7 separate regions of the Homo sapiens genome follow, and regions 1, 2, 4, 5, 6 and 7 are each linked to region 3. The links are contacts of gene promoters, found by promoter capture Hi-C in blood cells and fetal thymus (Javierre and others, 2016). All regions are on one chromosome and are shown on one strand. The core of a region is centred on a gene start or on the middle of the fragment in contact, and the rest is flanking DNA. Distances in the headings are between cores, read along the strand shown. Region 1 overlaps SCIRT (stem cell inhibitory RNA transcript). Region 2 has its middle 26 kb from the start of SCIRT. Region 3 holds the start of MRPS18A (mitochondrial ribosomal protein S18A). Region 4 holds the start of CAPN11 (calpain 11). Region 5 overlaps TMEM63B (transmembrane protein 63B). Region 6 overlaps SCIRT (stem cell inhibitory RNA transcript). Region 7 has its middle 6.8 kb from the start of SCIRT.

The links. The method cuts DNA at HindIII sites, captures the fragments that hold promoters and counts their contacts. A CHiCAGO score of 5 or more calls a contact.
Region 1: a fragment that was not itself captured here is called in contact with the fragment with the promoter of MRPS18A in region 3 in 5 of 17 cell types (erythroblasts, monocytes, endothelial precursors and 2 more); the score reaches 12.9 in erythroblasts.
Region 2: a fragment that was not itself captured here is called in contact with the fragment with the promoter of MRPS18A in region 3 in 10 of 17 cell types (erythroblasts, neutrophils, monocytes and 7 more); the score reaches 9.6 in erythroblasts.
Region 4: the fragment with the promoter of CAPN11 here is called in contact with the fragment with the promoter of MRPS18A in region 3 in 2 of 17 cell types (erythroblasts and endothelial precursors); the score reaches 5.6 in erythroblasts.
Region 5: a fragment that was not itself captured here is called in contact with the fragment with the promoter of MRPS18A in region 3 in 4 of 17 cell types (erythroblasts, non-activated CD4 T cells, total CD8 T cells and 1 more); the score reaches 6.9 in erythroblasts.
Region 6: a contact is called between a fragment that was not itself captured here and the fragment with the promoter of MRPS18A in region 3, in 16 of 17 cell types (erythroblasts, monocytes, neutrophils and 13 more). The highest score is 16.7, in erythroblasts.
Region 7: a fragment that was not itself captured here is called in contact with the fragment with the promoter of MRPS18A in region 3 in 17 of 17 cell types (erythroblasts, monocytes, megakaryocytes and 14 more); the score reaches 16.3 in erythroblasts.

Annotation. Positions count from the first base shown.
Region 1 is chr6:44,029,726-44,032,425 of GRCh38, reverse strand. All of the region lies in intron 1 of SCIRT (stem cell inhibitory RNA transcript), which reads left to right. Among named protein-coding and RNA genes, the nearest start is that of LINC03040, 30 kb to the right of the region's middle. The HindIII fragment of the contact is 6,000 bases long and covers 1-2,700 here.
Region 2 is chr6:44,099,076-44,101,775 of GRCh38, reverse strand. No RefSeq gene overlaps it. Among named protein-coding and RNA genes, the nearest start is that of SCIRT, 26 kb to the right of the region's middle. RefSeq lists a silencer at 1,370-1,664 and an enhancer at 2,570-2,700. The HindIII fragment of the contact is 1,162 bases long and covers 686-1,847 here.
Region 3 is chr6:43,686,440-43,689,139 of GRCh38, reverse strand. It overlaps MRPS18A (mitochondrial ribosomal protein S18A), which reads left to right and starts at 1,349. Exons shown (of 6, transcript NM_018135.4): 1 at 1,349-1,472. The coding sequence starts at 1,361. LOC124901320 (a long non-coding RNA gene) reads right to left here and starts at 178. Exons shown (of 2, transcript XR_007059586.1): 1 at 1-178. RefSeq lists enhancers at 979-1,590, 1,536-1,595. The HindIII fragment of the contact is 1,093 bases long and covers 1,054-2,146 here.
Region 4 is chr6:44,157,387-44,160,086 of GRCh38, reverse strand. CAPN11 (calpain 11) reads right to left here and starts at 1,267. Exons shown (of 23, transcript NM_007058.4): 1 at 1,223-1,267. The coding sequence starts at 1,238. LOC107986599 (a long non-coding RNA gene) reads left to right here and starts at 1,484. Exons shown (of 3, transcript XR_002956350.2): 1 at 1,484-1,502. RefSeq lists an enhancer at 1-90. The HindIII fragment of the contact is 9,288 bases long and covers 1-2,700 here.
Region 5 is chr6:44,130,756-44,133,455 of GRCh38, reverse strand. All of the region lies in intron 1 of TMEM63B (transmembrane protein 63B), which reads right to left. Among named protein-coding and RNA genes, the nearest start is that of TMEM63B, 4.6 kb to the right of the region's middle. RefSeq lists an enhancer at 1-291 and a silencer at 2,136-2,295. The HindIII fragment of the contact is 295 bases long and covers 1,103-1,397 here.
Region 6 is chr6:44,060,475-44,063,174 of GRCh38, reverse strand. The region is part of intron 1 of SCIRT (stem cell inhibitory RNA transcript); the gene reads left to right. Among named protein-coding and RNA genes, the nearest start is that of SCIRT, 13 kb to the left of the region's middle. RefSeq lists a silencer at 239-308 and an enhancer at 1-454. The HindIII fragment of the contact is 3,500 bases long and covers 1-2,700 here.
Region 7 is chr6:44,080,136-44,082,835 of GRCh38, reverse strand. No RefSeq gene overlaps it. Among named protein-coding and RNA genes, the nearest start is that of SCIRT, 6.8 kb to the right of the region's middle. The HindIII fragment of the contact is 475 bases long and covers 1,147-1,621 here.

The DNA of each region.
Region 1 (2,700 bases), core at 127-2,626, 340 kb before region 3:
AGATTTATTTATTTTTGATCCAAATATCTGACTAGTATCTCAATTTATTGAATTGAATTCTCATGTTTATTTGGGCCTATTTAAAATTGTTTTATTCTTTCCAATTGATCTGTATGCAGGCACCAGTCCCACACTATTTTAATTATTGTAGCTGTATACTATTTTTGAAAAATGTTTTATAGTGCTACTCTTTCCTTGTTAGTTTACTTATTTTTCCTTCCAGGAATGTTCTATTCATTTATATTTATTTTTCCAGAGGAATTTGTATGTAATCATTTTGTCAAATTATCCCCCAAAAGCAGCTGATATTTTGTACAGAAGTATGCTGAATTTATAGTTTAATTATGGTGACACTGACATGCTTACAATATTACTGACTTTTTATCCAAGGAAAAGGTCTTTCTCCATCGATTCAAGTCTATGTGTATGTCCCTCATTTAGCTTTTACAGCTATTTCCATGTATCTGCACATTTTTTCTATGTGTTTTATGTTAGGTTTTTGTTAACCTTATTAATGGGATGTTTTTCCATATTCTTTTATTAGTTATTTCTTGTATTTAGGAAATCTTGTTTTTAAACTAGCCACTTTGATAAATTCCTGATATTACTAAAAGTTCTTTAGCTGATTCTCTTGGAATATCCAAGTATAGAGTAATATCATCCAATGATAATAACTGCTTTCTTTTTACAATATTTATACCTCTTATTTTATTTTTCATCTAACTGCATTGTCAAGTAATTGCAGAACAATATTAAATACTAATGGTGATAGTTTATGGGGAGAGCTGACGTCAACTTTAACGGGACTGCTTTTAGAGTCTCCCCATTAAACATGTTGGGAAAATTAATCTATTTTACATGCTAATATAGTAGGTTATGTTGAGTTTCCCAGAATTTGGCTTTCTTGTACTTCTGGAAAGAATCATACTTAGTCTTGACACATTCTTTTGTCAACACAACTTTCATCAATACTCCCTTCCTTAGCTCAGAACTTCCTCCGTCGTTCATCTTCCTCCCTTGGAAGCAGAGGCACAAAATCAGGGCTGGAGGTGTGAGGCGGGGGCATGGCCAGGGAAGAGCTGAGGCTCAGGACATAGCTGTTGGCCTCCTGTCCCGAAGGAATGAGGATCCACAAGAGCCTCCTTAAGGCTGACAGAGTATGTGGAGACGAGCAGGGGGTTGAGAAGCCCTGGGGGCTGGAGAGGACTGAACAGCAGGGGGCAGGGGTCCTTGGAAGAAAACCAGGACTCTTCTGCTTGCCCCCTGAGGAAGCCCTGCACCTCTGTCACCCTCAGGACTATCTTGAGCCCCAGTCTTTTGAGGGAGGCATGATCCAGAACTTTGGGCCTCTCCCAGGCTAGTGGACTCAATGCAGGCACAGGTGGCTACTCTTACACTAGGACAGGGAGGCTAAAGGAGAGCCCTGAAGGTGGCAGGAGGTCAGGAAGATGTCAGCCTGGCATGGCTATTTCTTAACATTTGCAGCATGCAGCCTTCATGCAGCAGCTTCTGAAAGCAGTGACCACGTCCTCCCCCCTATCTCCTCCAGCATCCCTAGGACTGTTCTTTGGTCCTAAACATATGAAGTCACCGCACCCTCCCTCCATTTCTTGAAGCAGTTTCGAAGTCCTCTGGCCATGACCCTTTCTTAGGAACCTGGCTGACTTCAGCATCACTCTTGGGTGAACATTGCTGTGCCCAGGGCTTGTTGGAGAGAGGAGAGGGTTAGAGGGAGGGAGGGAGGGGATTTTCCAGTGTCCCCTCTGTCCCCTCTGGGCAGGGATTGAAGTGGCAGAGGGTGTGGGCGATGTGCTGAGGCCAGGTAACCAGGAGACAAGAGAGCCCTTTAGATGTCCTCCCTGAGCTGCCCTTCCTTTCCTTACAACTGTCAGCTCTAGGAGCACAGAAGAGGAAATTCCTTGACCTAGAACCTTAGCATCTTCCAGGCCTACAAACCTTTAATTAATGCAGTCATTTAAGAGGAAGGAAGGTGGTTTTGTAACTGTGTTGTATACCTGAGTGAGTATAGACACATTCTCCGCTCTTTCATCAGGAGAGAAAATAGAGCATATAGACAGGTGTGGGGGTAAACTGAGTTTTAGGCAAAGTGAGAAGAGCATGGTCAGCCATTGACAGGAGGCCAGCAAGAGTGAGTGGTGGACACCCTGCTCTGGAGGCAGGGGACTGAACGACGTCTGGATGCTGACGAAGCTGTGAGCATTAAAGGGTTCTTGAATCTTTTCCTGCTACTTTTGGTGCATCCCAGTAGGGACAACTGAAGCCAACCCTATTTCCCAGCCATGGGAGACTGGGAATATAGTGGGAAGACTGGTCAGCAGGAAGGGTCTCCTGCCATCAGACTGGGGCTAAGGACAGAAGTACAGCTTCTGACAAGAAAGGCAAGAGCAAGGCGGGTCCCAGCCTTGGGGGATCCAGGACCCTGGGCAGGCACTAAAGGCAGGGACTTGGATAGAAAGAGGCAAGATGGGCCCTGGAGGTTGGATGTGCACACACAATGAGGGCTAGGCCTTCAGAATGAGGTGGGGTGCATGGCAGAATGAGGAGCCCTTTGGGCATTTGAGGCACAACCCAGGAGGGCTTTCCCTGGAGCCATCTTGCAAAATCATGGTGGATTCTTGACTTGTGTGGCTTCCTGTGGAAAAGTAGGTGCCACTGGTGGATCCTGTTAAGTGCCCTGGC
Region 2 (2,700 bases), core at 17-2,516, 410 kb before region 3:
AGATCAATATCATCAAGAGAAGGCCCACTAGTATGATCTGCATTTTACCCTGAAGGCTGTCCGGTGACGCCCAGACCCAGGGAATTGGGATCAGGCTGCCTGATGGAGAGCCTAGGCTCTGCATGGAGACCCCTGGGGGGACCCCTGGGGCTTATCTGACTTGGACGAAGGTTGATTTGATGGGGAAAGTAAACAACTATTTGATGCCATCCCTGGACTCTATTTCTGACCATCTACTAGAGGCTTTGTGCCCTTCAGATACTGTGGGTGCTGTCAGGGGCTTACAGCAGCAGTGATCACATTCACTAAACACTTCCTAGCCCAGTCCTAAGCATTTTATGTGCCCAGTATAATCTTATCTTCCCAGCGGCCTCATGAGGTAGGTTCTGTCAGCATCACTGGGTTTCGCCCTGTGCTACAGGCACAGGAACCAAAGCTCAGAGAGGTGGGGTAACTTGTCTAAGGTCCCAGGCCTGGGAAACGGTGACGCTGGGCTGCCTAACCGCGCTGCAGTGCCACTGCACCATAGTTGGTGGTTGTTTGTGAGTGGAAGTCGGGGTGGGGGTCAGTGGTGACTGATAGAAGGAGACCCCAGCAGAGCAGGAAGCAGGAGAATCTGAGCAAGTGAAAGGGCACCTCATTCCCTGAGCGTGGTGGGGGGACTGGGTGCTCAGAGAGGTAAGCTTGTATGTTAGTTGGGAAAGGGGGGTTGTCTACTGGGAGTGAGGGGAAGGGTGGGAGGGGAAAGGTGGGGCCAGCTGCCAGAGGGAAGGTGAGGATGGAGAAAGGGTTATCAGTGTACTGAGGGCGCTACGCCCCGTGATCTCCCCCGACAGAGAAGAGTTCTGTCCAGCATTGCTTGGTGGCCAAGTGAGGGAGGAGAGAAGGTGGCTGGAGATATTTTGGGTCTGAGTCTGCAGGGCAGGGTAGGGGATGTGGCCCCTCTCAAAGGGTTTGCTGCCCAGGACAGGGTCAACTATGCCTTTCTCCACGATTTCTGGTCTTGAGCACAGCTCTTCCTGGGTGCCCTGTACAGGGCTCTACTCACTGAAGTGCCACCGACTCCAGGGGTGTGTCGTGTCTGACCTTGGTGGAGGGCAAGGAATGTGTCTTTTTGTATCCCCAGTGCCTAGAACAATGCTGGCACCTGGAAATATTGCTTGAACCTAACTGTCTTGTTTTTGTCTTCCTGTGAGTTCAAGGACAGGAGCAGTGCTTAACACACAGTAGGTAATGGAATATTTGTTCCAGCAGCCTGGACACTCAAGGGGAGAAGCCAGGGCTGCTGCTGCCTCTCTGGAAACCCTGTCTTCCCTTTGGTTTCTGCCTCTCCCAACCCACGTGTACACACATACACATGCCAACACATACACACTCAGACACAGGCTCATACTCAGACATGCATACTCATTCACACACTTAACATATATGAGCACACAACACATGCACACTTGCATGCACACACTATTTTAGTCAGAGCTGCTCCTGCAGAGTCTCTCCAGTCCCAGGGCCTGTCCTGCAGCCTCCTAGTGGCACTGCTGTGGTATGACCTGGAGAGCCTGGACAAGGACTCTTCTCAGTGTATTCACTCCTAATTTGTCCATGACAGATTTAGGCTCAGAGCTCAAGGGGGTTGCAGACTCTGGGTGAGCCTTTGTCCCTGCCCTTGAGAAGGTCCCAGTTGCCTAAAGCTCTTGGCCAGAACTTAAGGAAACCAAGGGCACAGGTGCATAGCAGTACCTACTGTGCCTGCTAGATGCTTGGCGCAAGGGATTTTGTTTACTCCTTACAACAACTCTATGAAGCAGGTTTTACTCACCTCAGTTTGTGTTGTGGACACTGAAGCTTGGTTGTTAATTAATTGCCCCAAATTGCATAGTAATGGATGGAGCCAGGATTTAGGCCTGGGTCTGACTCCAGAGGTCCTTTCTTTCAGCACTAGATGGAATCCTTGTTGGCAGAACAAGGGGGAGAAGAGGCTTTATGTTGCCCAGCTTGTCCTTTTGAGCACATAACATCGTATATGAGCCAGAACATAAAGGTATGAAAGTTAATACAGGTCGGTACTTCTTAGCTTTTATGGGCCCTTCGAAAACCTGAAACTTGCTAAGGGTTGTGGACCCTTTCCCCAGATAGTGCATATATGCAGAGGCATACATAGGTTACTCTGGGTACAATTTCAGGGATTTGAGGTCCCCCTGAAACCTCCAGTGGTTCCCAAGTTGAGAACCCCTGTGAGAGGTGTTTGCTAACAATGTGACAGATGAGAAGAGATGACTGTCCATGCCCTGCACAGAGCACATACCACAGTGCCCAGAGAGGTCTGTACATACTCGTTTCAGCCTGTTTTTAATAGAATTGGAAACAATCTGAATAGCCATCAGTAGGGGCCTGGGTAAATAAGCAAAGTCCATGTGTGCCATGGAGTAGCACACAACTGTTCCAAGAAAGGATGGTGTAGGTATAGATAGATGTAGCTCTCCAAGACATATTGTTGAATGGAAAAAAGCCTGTTGAAGAGTGATATACCTCACACATTATTGTGGGTTTTTTGTTTTTTTTTTTTTTTAAGACAGGGTCTCACTCTGTCACCCAGGCTGGAGTGCAGTGGTGCAATCTCAGCTCACTTCTGCCTCCATACGCCGGGTTCAAGGTGTCTCAACCTCCTGCATAGCTGGGATCACAGGCCACCATGCCCAG
Region 3 (2,700 bases), core at 100-2,599:
ACGTCTCACAAATCTGAAAGAGGAAAAACTGGCAGTTGTATTTTCTCTTTGGTACCATAAGCTTCCTTACAACACAAGTGAGTCCAACTTGTGAAAAGAGTCATCTCCATAACTGCTCTATTAACTAGCTTATGTTTATTGAGCCCTTTTGTTTTGTTTTGTTTTGTTTTGTTTTGTTTTTGAGACGGAGTTTCACTCTTGTCGCCCAGGCTGGAGTGCAATGGTGTGATCTTGGCTCACTGCAACCTCCGCCTCCTGGGTTCAAGCGATTCTCCTGCCTCAGCCTCCCAAGTGTCTGGGATTACAGGTGCCCGCCACCACACCCACCTAATTTTTGTATTTTTAGTAGATAGGGTTTCACCATGTTGGTCAGGCTGGTCTTGAACTCCTGACCTCAGGTAATCCACCCGCCTCAGCCTCCCAAAGTGCTGGGATTACAGGCATGAGCCACCACACCCGGCCGATCACTTATGTTTTATCACATCTAATCTTCAGGGTCTAGTCCTCCCCTAGGCCCTATAAAATAGATTCTACTCATTCATTCAACAAGTATATATTGTACTCTTATTATGTGTCAGGAACTATTCTAAGTGCTGGAGATGTGCGAGTCAACAGAAAACAATGTTCCTGACTTCATGGAGCTTACAGTCTGGTGAGAAGACACATACAAAACAAACATAAAACTGAAATTGTCCCAAGCACTAAGATGGAGAGGCATCTGGTGCTGAGAATGGGCAGTCAAGCAAAACTGTGGAAATAAGGTTTGAGGTGAGCTCTAAGAAATAAGCAGAAGCTAACTAGACAGCTAAAGAGCAGACAAAGGAAATAGCTTGTATCAAGGCCCTGGGGCTAGAGAGAGGTCTAAGTATATGCAAATCAAAGATCAGTGTGGCAGTGGTCAGGGAAGAAGGGGGTATCAATTCTATCCCAGGTCTGCCTGATATCCGATACTCCAGAGCCAGAGTTCCTAACCATTTCAGCCTCTCCCGTAGAGGTCTAGCCCCAGTCACAGAAGCTAAAAGTCCACAGCTCACGTGCAGTGAAGAGAAAGCTTTAAAGACATAGGTGGGGTGTTGCGTGCGATTTTCCTAAGGAAGCCTTCCAGGAAACGAATGCAACCTTGAAGACTTGTAGGCATTGGCAGACAGGAGCTAGAAGACCTCCCCTAGATCCTTAACACGAAATATAGGCTTGACGCAGAAGCCTCTCTTCGTATCCCAAAGCGGACAGGTGAGAGAAATGATGTGACAGGAGCAAGCGAACTACAACCCCGCCCCGCCGTTCCTGCCCCACCACTGCGGCGGCGGGCGCTACGTTCCGGAAGCGGAAATGGACGAGAGGTCAGGGTAGGTTTTTGAAGATGGCGGCCCTCAAGGCTCTGGTGTCCGGCTGTGGGCGGCTTCTCCGTGGGCTACTAGCGGGCCCGGCAGCGACCAGCTGGTCTCGGCTTCCAGCTCGCGGGTTCAGGGAAGGTGAGTCATGCGTCCCAGCAACCTCCTGAAATTAAGAAGAGCGGCAGAGACTGCTTCCGCCAGCCCCGGTGCGCTCCTTCCTACCTTTCCTTCGTCCGATTCTGAAACTTTGGAGGTACCGGCTCCCCAGGCGTGCTTAAAAGCCCCTTCCACACCCTGGTGCCTTATCTTGATCTCCTGCCCCTTGTGAGTATCTTCACAAGGCGGAGGAGGACGGAGAGAAAAGCCTGCTTACTTAGCAGGAGCAGACACTAAACCTGTCCTAGGGCTCAGAAAAGTTTTCGGAAAGGGTTTGCATGTTAATTCTTCCTTCCATGTTCTCCGAATCGCAGTCTCTTTTATTAAAGAGTCTCTGGATCACGAAGGAAGGCCATCTGGGTACCCTCCCAGAGCCTCCCTTTCCACTTTCCCTTCTCAAAATGCTGTGATCTGATGGCGGCGTTCTCTGCCCCGGGCCGCTAGTCTCCCTGTGAGGGGGAGGCCAAAGTGGAAAGGCCATTGAATAGCTGAGACATAGGCAAATGCAGGATGGTAGTTCAGCTTTTCATTAATCTTAATCTGGGAAAGCGGCCTGATTCGAGCATCAACTGAGAGTTTACTGAATGCCAAGTGCTATGCTTCAAGCTGTGAAGGAATTCTGGAGACAGAAAATACAGCCCTTTTTCTGAAAAGCTTAGGTTCTAATGAGATTATGTATATACACACTCCAATAAATGCAAGTTAGCCTTTTACGTGACGAAGTACAGGGAGACTCAGTTACTGGAAACGGCAAACCCAGTTGGAAGTTTTCATAAAGAGGATGTGTCTTGAGCAGGCTCACAAAAGGATGGAATCTGGCGGAGAGTGAAACGGTCTTTTAGGACATAGCCTTCCTTTGTGTACTCCTGGAAGCAGGAAAGGATGAGTGATGTGCAAAAGAAGAGATGTGGGGTTTTTTGAGGATCTGGCATAGTATTGGGCAGCATATCCTTTAACGAAAGCTGAGAAGTATCCAGTGGAAAAGAGTGATCATTGTTGTCAGAGGGAGCAGAAAAGTCTAAAAAGGGCCTAATGAAGGGGCCATTGGATTTGTCTCAGAAGAGGTCTCTTTGTAGCTTTCAAACAGCAATTTCAATAGAGTGGCAAACAAGGAATCCAGTTTGGAGAAATGAAAGAGATAGTTGATGAAGAGATGGAAATAGTAAGTATGTTTGAAGAATTTAGCCCGTAAGGGAAGTGGAGCATTTGC
Region 4 (2,700 bases), core at 18-2,517, 470 kb before region 3:
TCTCGGCTCACTGCAACCTCCACTTGCTGGGTTCAAGAGATTCTCCTGCCTCAGCCTCCCGAGTAGCTGGGATTACAGGCGCCCGCCACCACGCATGGCTAATTTTTGTATTTTAGTAGAGACACGGTTTCACTATGTTGGCCAGGCTGGTCTCGAACTCCTGACCTCAGATGATCCACCTGCCTTGGCCTCCCAGAGTGCTAGGATTACAGGCGTGAACCACTGTGCCTGGCCTCTCTCAGTGATTTTCTAAATGCAATACATTGTTATTAGGGGACTATAGATTTAAGGACAGTTTGATTTCCGGCACTGGGAAAAAACTAAGATGTTGTGTCAGGGAACTTTAAAAAAAAATAAATACTAATAAGTAATAATAATAAATAAATAAATTATATTTTGAGATGAGGTCTTGCTATGCTGACCAGGCTGGTCTTGAACTCCTGGGCTCAGGGCACTTCTGAAGAACAAGGACTGGGTTTGGGGTCACCAGCTAGGCCTAAACTTCCTAGGGTCAGGTAAACAGGGAGGGCCTGAGAAGCTGGGAGGCTGGGTCTAGGGGCCCATGGTCTCACGGTGCCCCAGGCTGAGGGTGAGGTACAGGGCTGACCTTCTGCTGGCCAAGGCTGGCTGCCCTCTGTGCACCCTAGCCCCACAGGAACAACTCAGTTCTGCCCAGCCCTCCCCTTCCCCCCAGCCCACTCTCCCCCATCTCCTGGAGTCTGGTCCCAGGCTTGCCTCAGGTAGTCCTGCCCCTGCCACCCTGAGGATCTCATCTTCCTGGGCTGAGGGACCTGCTTTTCTAGGCTTAGGAGAGGTTCTCTCTGTTCCCTAAAGTTTTCTTCTCTACGTGGGCTTTTTCACACAAACCCTTTTCCCCAGCAGCCATGACAGTGGGATGGCCGGCCCCTCTCCTCTCCCCAACTCCAACTGTCAGTGGAGAGGAGAAAGAGTTCCTGCCCGGCCTACCACCCAGTCTGACCACCAGTGGCCTATCCTTCCCCAAACAGTCTGAGAACGAGGCCCAGGTCCTGTCCTTAGGGAGCATCCAGTCTGATGGAAGAGTCACTCTCTGTACCCTCAAGGGGCATCCAGTCTGATGGAAGAGTCACTCTCTGTACCCTCAAGGGGCACCCAGTCTGATGCGGGACACAGCTCCTCCCCTGGGGGGAGGCTCTAGCCTGCAGGAGGTACAGGAGTGGGGCAAGGCCCCATGAGTGCCTACCTGGGGAGTACAGCATGCTGGTGGCTAGCTCGGTGCTTGACAGTTGAAGGTTCTGGTGGGAGGGGGAGAAGAGACCCTCCCCCCAGAACTCTCTCATTGCAGTGGGATTCCTAGGTCAGCAGCCGGTTTAACAGCTGCCTTCCCTTTTCTCCTTCTCAGTAACCCAGCCCCTTACCCAGCTGAGGGCTACCCGCTTTAGGGACAGATGACCCAGCACCCCTGCCTTGCACAGCCTCCACCAGCCTGGCTGTCCTCACTGTATCACGGTCATCCCATCAGGGTAGGTCCCAGTCCCTTTTTTTCAGCCCAAGGTTTCCAGGAAGGGGTTGTCCCTGACACACCAACCTGACCTTTACATCCAGAAAGCCTTCTCATTCCCAAAAGCCCCTTTCTCACTGACATGGCATTTTTCCTGTGTTGCTGTCTTCACATGGCACCCTCCTCTGTGTCTCTTCTTCTTATAAGGACACCAGTCATATGGGGCTAGGGTCCCATGCATTTCAGTATGACCTCATCTTAATTGAACGAATTACATCTGCAACCACCCTGTTTCCAAATGAGGTCACATTCTGAAGTACTGGGGGCCAGGACTTCAACATGCCTTTTTGGGGGACACGATTCCACCTGCAACACTCTCCTTGCCTAGCCCCAGTCTGGCAAGGTTAGGCCACTGGTCTGACCACATGTCCTGCCTCTGCACTGGAAAGTGGGAATGCTTTGAGCTAAGAACTCTGCTCCAGAGTGCAGTCTTCTCTGGAGTGTATGATGGCTGAGGACAGGGACTGTCAAGGTCATCCCAGTGCCCCTCAGCCCTGCCTGGTGCTAATCAGGCACAGAACAGGTGTGAGAGCACCCAATGGGATCAGAGAACCTTGTTCCAAGCTCTGAAACAGGAGCTGACCTTGGGCGAGCCCTCCCCCTTTCTCCTTTCTGGGACTCAATCTCCTCATCTACGAGAATATTAATTATGGTTTGTTATTATGTGCCAAACACTGGGCTAAGAACTTCCTACTTATTTAATCCTTAAAACAGCCAGAGGCCATGACATTGCTATTCCCATTTTATAGATGAGGAAAGTGAGGTCTAGAGGTATGATGCAACTTGCCCAGGGTCACACAGCTGTTAAGCGGTCGAGCCAGGATTTAAACTAATAACTTCAGATTTTTTTTTTTTTTTTTTTTTTTGAGATGGAGTCTCGCTCTTTTGCCCAGGCTGGAGTGAAGTGGTGCAATCTCAGCTCACTGCAACCTCTGCCCCCCGGGTTCAAGCGATTCTCCTGCCTCAGCCTCTCAAGTAGCTGGGATTACAGGTGCCCACCACCATGCCCAGCTAATTTTTGTATTTTTAGTAGAGACGGGGTTTCGCCATGTTGGGCAGGCTGGTCTCGAACTCCTGACCTCAGGTGATCACTCGCTTCGGCCTCCCAAAGCGCTAGGATTATAGGCATAAGCCACCGTGCCCGGCCATAACTTTAGCTC
Region 5 (2,700 bases), core at 1-2,500, 440 kb before region 3:
GCGGGCTGTGGAGCAGGGGAGGAGGTCCTCAGGGAAGAAAAAGGAAAACCAAAGAGAACAACAAAACTAGAAACAGTGACTGCAACTTCGGGAGCAGCATCCCTTAGCCCCCAGGGGGACTCAGAGGGTTTCTCCTGCCTCTTCCTAACACTTCAACCACAGGGCAAGAGGCAGAAGCCCTCAGATGGAGGGGAGGATGGAGTTGTTTATGTGTTTCACTTGGTCCCAGGGAGTCTCTGCAAAGCCTGGATTAGGAAGACTAAAGGAGTGTGTGCTGGTGTGTTATGCCTCTTCCTTTTCCAGTCCAAGCTGCCTTTAAAAACACACTAATTTAGTAATTGTATTGGGTACCATTTGTCCAGTGCCCTCAGTTTCAAGAATAATATATTACATGATTTCATTTAATCCTCGACGATCCTGAATTGAGTGTCACTGACATTTTAGGGTGGGGGCACAGGGCCTCAGAGGTTAAGTAACTTTCCCAAGGTCACACTGCTAATAAAATGAGGGACCTAGGACTCAAACCTAGCTCACCTTCTTTCTAAAGCTAGAATGATTTTCAGGGCACCACGGTGCTTTTCTGATGTTCCTAGAACAGGACTCGGCAGACCATGGAAGCTTTATAAATGCTCATTAAATGTTCTCAGGCCAGAGAACCTGTGGGTGCTGTGGAAATGTGTGTGTCCAGGTATGTAAATGTGTGTTGATGTGTGGACCTGTGTCCAGGAGGAGCTAGGTGACTGCATGGCAGTCCACGGAAATGAAGGGAGTTGTTGGCTTCGAAGTGGGGGTGTGAACATGGGTGTGTCTGGGAGCCCGGGTATGTAAACATAAGATGCACAGAACCCTGGGGCACTATGGGAGGTTAAAGGTAGGTATAGGTATCTTGGGTTGGGGGGACTCTAACTAGTCCCCCTTTCTCAATTCTCAACTCCAATGTACTCCAGCAATCTCAACACTCTATTCCCACCCCTTGCCTGTTTCTCTCTCTGAATTCCAAGGCTCCATCAGATCAGAATGAAATGAGAACAAGCCCCAGAGTACCATTCCTATCAACTCCTGTCTTCTCCACACCAAAGAAAGGTAGAGCATTTTGGAAGCTTCTACATGAAGTGGCCCCAGCAGGGTGGACAGGATCTAGCTAGATGGTTAGTAACTGAAATCACCATGCTCCTCTGCTGTCCGCCTCCTTGGGGTCACAAAGTACTCTCCCCTCCACAACAGCATTAATCTTCCCACCTGCATGGGAGGAAGGCAGGGCACACTCAGATCACTATCCCCATTTTACAGGGAGGAAGCAGGAACCCAGTAGGGGAAGCAACTTGCACAGTGACAGGACAGGTAAGGGGTGGAGCCTGGGCTGGCAGCTCTGCCAGTTGACAGGGCTGCTCCAAGCTTTTAATTGTGGGGGTGGGGTTGCTGGGTTGAGTTTCATCAAGGGCAGCTGCTCTCAAAGCCAGCACTGGGCTGAGCAACTGAGAAGAGGGAAGACATTGAGGCAGAATACCTTGGGGATGGGAGGTGGCAGTTCTTCCACTCCACGAGGTGCCTGCACCAGCTATATCCCAGTTTCTCTAGTCTGATATTGAGGTTTTGGTTGAGGTGTGTCCAGAGAGTGATGGAGCATTTTACTTCTAGCTAACTTTTTAATTTTACCATTAAGGAGTGTGTGCATGGTGGGGGTTGGAGAGCTATAACTTATAAGCTTTTTTTTGGGGGGGTTGTTGTGTATTTTTTTGAGACGGAGTCTCGCTCTGTCACCAGAGTGGAGTGCAGTGGCGCGATCTTGGCTCACTGCAACCTCTGCCTCCTGGGTTCAAGGGATTCTCCTGCCTCAGCCTCCTGAGTAGCTGGGACTACAGACACATGCCACCACGCCCAGCTAATTTTTGTATTTTCAGTAGAGACAGGGTTTCACCATGTTGGCCAGGATGGTCTCGATCTCTTGACCTCATGATCTGCCCACCTCGGCCTCCCAAAGTGCTGGGATTACAGGAGTGATATAAGCTTTTTCAGTGGAGTTACTGGGCAAGATTTAAGTTAGGGCTTTGGATCAAAGCAAGGCCATGTGGTCTGAGGGGAGGAGGGGAAGATGGAAGCGAGCTCTGTTACTACGAAACCTGAGTCTCAGTCTTCCAATCTGTAACAAAGAGATACAAATATCCTTACTCTACCCCTACCCACTTCAGAGAGAAAGGCAAGAATATATCCACAAGTGAGCATAAAAGTAGTAGTAGGTGCCAGGCACGGTGGCTCACACCTGTAATCCCAGCATTTTGGGAGGCCGAGCTGGGCAGATCACAGGGTCAGGAGTTCGAGACCAGCCTGGCCAACACAGTGAAACCCCGTCTCTACTAAAAAAATACAAAAATTAGCTGGGTGTGGTGGCATGCGTCTGTAGTCCCAGCTACTCGGGAGGCTGAGGCAGGAGAATCACTTGAACCCAGGAGGCAGAGGTTGCAGTGACCTTAGATCATGCCACTGCACTCCAGCCTGGGCGACAGAGTGAGACTCCATCTCAAAAAAAAAAGTAGTAGTAGGCAGGGTGGGGTGGCTCACCCCTGTAATCTCAGCACTTTTGAAGGCCAAGTGGGGAAGATACCTTGAGCCTAGGAGTTGGAGGCTGCAGTCAGCCATGATCATGCCACTGCACTCCAGCCTGGGCAAGAGAGCAAAACCTTGTCTCGAGGGGAAAAAAAA
Region 6 (2,700 bases), core at 56-2,555, 370 kb before region 3:
GGGGTCCATTGTCTGCCTGCCGCCCCCACCCCTCTGGCGAGCACAAGCTCAGCAACAGCCGGCAGCGGGCCCTTGGCAGAAGCTCGGTCCTGTTCCCCCCACACAGGCACGCCCTGGCCTGCACGTCTTCGCCTGGGCCTCCAGCCATGATGGCGCTGCCCGCTGTGCTGATCAGTGCTGCCACTGGCCTCTAGGGGGCACTGCTTGGGCACTTAGGAAGTCCTTGCAGGGTGAGCCAGGGCCTGGAGCCCTCATCATGGGGTTGTCAGAAGCTCAGCCCATTGGGGTAGGGCAGACTGGGGAGAGGGCAGAGGCAAGATGGGTCACCTGGACAGAGGGTGGAGCAAGGTGACCCCCAGGATGTGGCCTTGGAGAGTTATAGAAATGTCCTTGTCAAACTCCAGGTCTACAACAGGTGGGCAAGGGGGTAGGAAGCTAGTGTTGACCAGCAGTGTGACTTTGGGCCTCCTCCCTCAGGTCTCAGTTTCCTTATCTGTATAACGCAGGGACTGGAGAGGACCCATCTCTAGGTTTAATGTTCTGTGATTCGTGGCACATTTGCTCTTCCTGGCTGGGTTCAGCCCCAGTTGAAACCAGTGGGCAAGATGGGGCATGTCTTGATCTGTGTCTCCCTTTCCCACTTCTCCATCAAAGTGGTAGAAGGGCTGGGGTTTCTGCAGCCCAATACCCTTGGGAGTCATTGAGGTGAGGCCTGACAACTCACATGCCCCTCAGAGCCCTTAGTCCCAGGACCCCCAGGGGCAGAGCTGTGGCCTCTAATCAGCAGGTTAAAAATAACACCCATGGGCTCTTCTCCCTCCACAGGAATGGTGTTTTTGTTGGCATCTGTGGCCCCTCTGGCCCTGCCAACTTGCACAGCATGTGACATTGTCAGGGGAATGTAGGTGTGAGGAAGGAGTTAGCCGGAGGGGCTTGCACTGCCCTGCTCCAGGTGAAGGTGCAGAGCAGAGGTCAGGGACAGCTGGCAGGGCCACCTGTGGCCACAAGGCTGCCCATGAGGCTGAGGGCACATGATGGGCAAGGCAAAGTCCACTGGTAGAAATAAAATGGTGCAGACTATAGGCTGGGCTATGTCCAGGTGCTGGGCCTGGGCCCTGCAGGGCAGAGCTGTGCAACCAACTCATCCCAGTCCTCAGACCCCAGAAGCAGAATCAGTGAGTCACAGGATTGTGGAATCAAGGCATTCTAGACTTGAAAAGAACTCAAGAGATACTGTCCAATCCCTGCCCAGACAGGAGAAAAATAGCCCCACTGGAGAATATTTATGGAGCTCGTCCTGGGTGCCAGGCTCTAAGCTGGCATCCACTGAATTAATCTTCCCAGCAACCCTCTGCACCCAGTTCTGTTTTTTTTTTTTCTTCCAAACAGAGGAAGAAACAAAGGACAGAGAAGTTAGGTAACTTGTCCAAAGTGCCTTCAAACTGATCTCTGTATGATTCCTAAATCCCTATCCATAATCGTTACCTTGTCTGATTTAACACAGGTGGGAACAGAAGCCCAGAACTTGGAGGCTGTGCTGGGGTTTCAGGACAGGCCACTGAAGCTGTGTGCCCTATTCAGTTCTGGACTCAGTCCACAGCTCCTTGCACACAGAGAGCTCATGTCATGGGCAGTCAGAATTCTCCCTTAGGTCATCCGGAATCGTGTTTACTTTAATGTAAGATCATTTCTTCTCCTTCACTTCTCCAGAGAGAAATGACAGCTCCTTAGTTCTCCTCTTAAAGTCCCTGCTCATTGTTAACAGTGGTCACACTCGTAATTTTTTGAGGGTACAAATCTGCCAACACACTCATCATTTAACCCCCAACTTTCTCTGGGGAACTTCAGGAAAAGCATCCCTGGGCATTAACTCATCTAACTGCTTATCATGGCGTTGATGTCACCCCTGAGCCTGCTCTTGCCCAGGCAGAACAAGCCCGATTTTTTCCCCCTTTCCGTCGGGCCTGTGTTTGCCCTCTCCATGGCATCTGCGGCCCTGTCTGGCCTCTTGCCAGCTTCTTGTGACCAAATGTGGACCTGGCCTGGCCAAGGAGGAGAGCTTGGGGGTCAGGGCCTGACCTGACAGCTGTCCCTCCAGGGGTCCCAGGCAGTGGTACCAAAATTTAAGCCTTGGCTGCCCCCACCCTGCCAGGTCTCCCTACTACCCCCATTCCATCTTATGCCGTCAGGATCCTGATGTGTGTTTATGGTGTGGTGCTCCCAAGGCATTACCTGGTCCTTTAGGTCCCCAAAGCGCTGGAGATATTATTCTGGAGTGAGGAGTCCAGGTTTCTTTCCCTAACTCATGCCACAGACCAATCAAGTGGCAGCTTCTTGTTCCTCACACCCCAGGGCAGGATTTCAACAGCAGCAATAATAGCACTGACTGCTTACTGAGCACTTGCCTTGTGCCAGACACTGTGATGAGCACATTACAGTAGCCCTTTCGCTGAATACTCACAACAGCCAGGTGAGGTGGGGTCCACGGGTATCCTTACTTTATAGGAATCCCAGGCACAGAGAAGGGTTTTGTCTGGGCTGACAACGGATTTAATGCTACACTGATTCTCTGTTTAGTTTTGGTTTGGTTTTTGAATCACTTCACGCTGGCCCTGAGTGAGGCGATAAGGCCCATTCCCAAAGCACAGGTGGGAAAACTGAGAGTCCGACTTGGGCAGTGAGTCAGGTAGGCCATCCTGT
Region 7 (2,700 bases), core at 135-2,634, 390 kb before region 3:
TTTTTATAATTAGGGGCCAAAATCAAATTTTCATTCCCCCGGGGGAAATCCTGTTTCCACATGAAACCCAAGCTGGTGGAGGGCTGGGAGTGGGTGTGTAAAATGAATCTGGGGCTGGGAGCTTAGCTGCCTGGGCCAAGTCCTGGCCCTACCTTTCTTCCAGCTGCAAGACCATTTCACCTGCTCAGCCTCAGCTTCCCATCTGCCAGTGAGGGACAACCTGTCTGGAATGGTGGCTGAGTCTGAAATGAACATCACCTGGTGATGTGCAAGCCAGGTGAGAATGCCACCGTGCAACATAAAAGTGGGTGGCCGTTGCTGATCAGCACCTTTTACTTCCACTTAGCACCATGTTAGGCCCAGGAGAGGAAATGGATGGACCCTTGACTCTATTTGGTAAGGATTTAGTCTGTGCCTTGAGAATGGATTGGGTTGCCTGGGCTGCGGAGATGTAGAAGATAGTTGGGCAAGGTTCATTGGATGGATGACTGAATGACTAAATATATGAAGAGATGCCTGTTTCTGCAGTGTTGAGAAGTTCAGTGCCTCCCAACTGGGAGGCACGAGGGACTGGACCAGATGACCTTAAATTTTTTTTTTTTAATATTAAAAAAATACACAGAGAGACAAGGTTTTGCTATGTTGCCCAGGCTGGTCTTCGACTCCTGGCCTTGAGCAATCCTCCAGCCTCAGTTTCACCAAAGTGTTGAGACGACAGGTGTGAGCCACCATGCTCATCCCAGATGACATTTGAAGCGGCTTTCCACTGAAGGTCCTTCCCAGGTTCTGTGACTTGAGCTGAGTTCTGCCCCCTTTCCAAGAGCCCCTGCTTATCCCCAGGCCTCCCTGTGATTGGTGCTGGGTTGGGCACAGGACCTTTTTGTCCCACATGGTCCTGCCCACAACGGTTCCCAGGTTAAGGTATGGGGAGAGCCCATGGCCAGGAGAACTGAGGCCCATGCGGGACCTACATGATGAGTCAGAGTGAGGCTGGGGGAGAGGACAGCCTTCGAGAGCCAAGGCTGTGTTGTGGGAGGGAAGTATTGCCAGCTTTTTGGGGGTTAGCCGGGAAGGCTTCCTGGAATTGGCGTTGATTCTCAACGTGGGAGCCACTAGGTTGGCCCCTAGTCCCAGCCGTCACAAGCTTGTGTGGACTAGTATGCATCTGCCTTCTGCTTACCTTGCCATGTCTAGCCCATGACCCTGGAGGGCAAGAGGGAGGGGTGTCCTGCTGCGGGGCAGAGGGATTCTGGCCTAGGTGTGTGTGGGAACTCCTGAGGCTGCAGGCTTCAGTTTTTGCCGGCTCACTGAAGCAGTCTCTGGGGAAGCCGGGGCTTCTGGGAGTGGTTCTGGTGCTGCGTGGTCTTGGCTAGTTTTCATCTCTTGGAATATTTCCTCCCCTGCAAAATGAGTGGCTGGCAAAGGTGATCATCCAAATCCCCCTGCACTGGGATTCATGGCAGGAGTCTGCGGGGGGACACCTGGACAACCCAGGATGAGACCCTGTGCCCTGGGGTGAGCTGGATGACAGGCTCAGGGAGTCATGGGGGCAGGGGGGTTCTCTCTGTGCAGCTGCCTCCTGGAGGGCCTTTTGGGGGCTAAAAGTACCACCCTGCAAGCTTCCCTCCCTGGCTTCTGCCCCCCTCCCCTGCCCCATTTTGTCCCCTTTGTTACATTCCACAGTGGAAAGCGATCCCTCTCTCAAGGCCTGAGGATTACAGTCAGGAGAAAAGCCTGGGTCGCCCTGGGAACACTCACGTAGCCTTTTCCCACCGGTGCCCTCCTCCTCCTGACAAAGGCTGGGGTAGGGGGATGATCCTGATGCACCCCAGCCTGAGGGAGCAGTAGGGTCTCTGGGGTTGGGGGGCTGGTCAGCCTTTCCCTCCCTCCCTGGGGTTCAGCAACCCCAGGGAGGGAGTGAACTGTGTTGAGAAGCCCCCAGTGGGCCCTCTCAGGATGCAATTGGGGCCTAGGTCCTGGGTTTCCATGTGCCTGGGCTCCCCCTGCCCCCTCACTTCTGCCCTGAACCCTCCCGCAGGCTGCAGTGCCACTCCCCATCCCTACTAAGCTGGGGATTTCCGCAGGCTGAGCCAACCGCCTGACCCTAATTATGGCGCCTTCATCCTGTTGAGGTTAAGCTCCCTATGACTTTCTCTCCCCCCACCCCAGAGGCCAGGCTGGGGGTCAGAGACTCAAGAGTCTCAAGCCTACTGTGCCCCCTCTGGAAAGGGTTGATGGGCCTGTGTCCCCTTGGGTGGTTGGGAGGCAGCTTCTTGTGGGTCTGGGTAGACAAGCTAAGATAGTTTCTCTGGGCCGGGTGCGGTGGCTCACGCCTGTAATCCCAGCACTTTGGAAGGCTGAGGCAGGCGGATCATGAGGTCAAGAGATTGAGACCATCCTGGCTAACACGGTGAGACCCCGCCTCTACTAAAAAAAAACAAAAAAAATTAGCCACGTGTGGTGGCAGGCACCTGTAGTCTCAGCTACTCAGGAGGCTGAGGGAGGAGAATGGCGTGAACCCGGGAGGCGGAGCTTGCAGTGAGCTGAGATTGCGCTACTGCACTCCAGCCTGGGCAACAGAGCGAGACTCCGTCTCAAAAAAAAAAAAAAGTTTATCTGGAGAGCCCTTAGGACAGAGGGGAGCCCTGGGGAGCTGACCTCTAGAGGGCTGGGAAGTCTGAAGATGGGGAACTCCTAGAG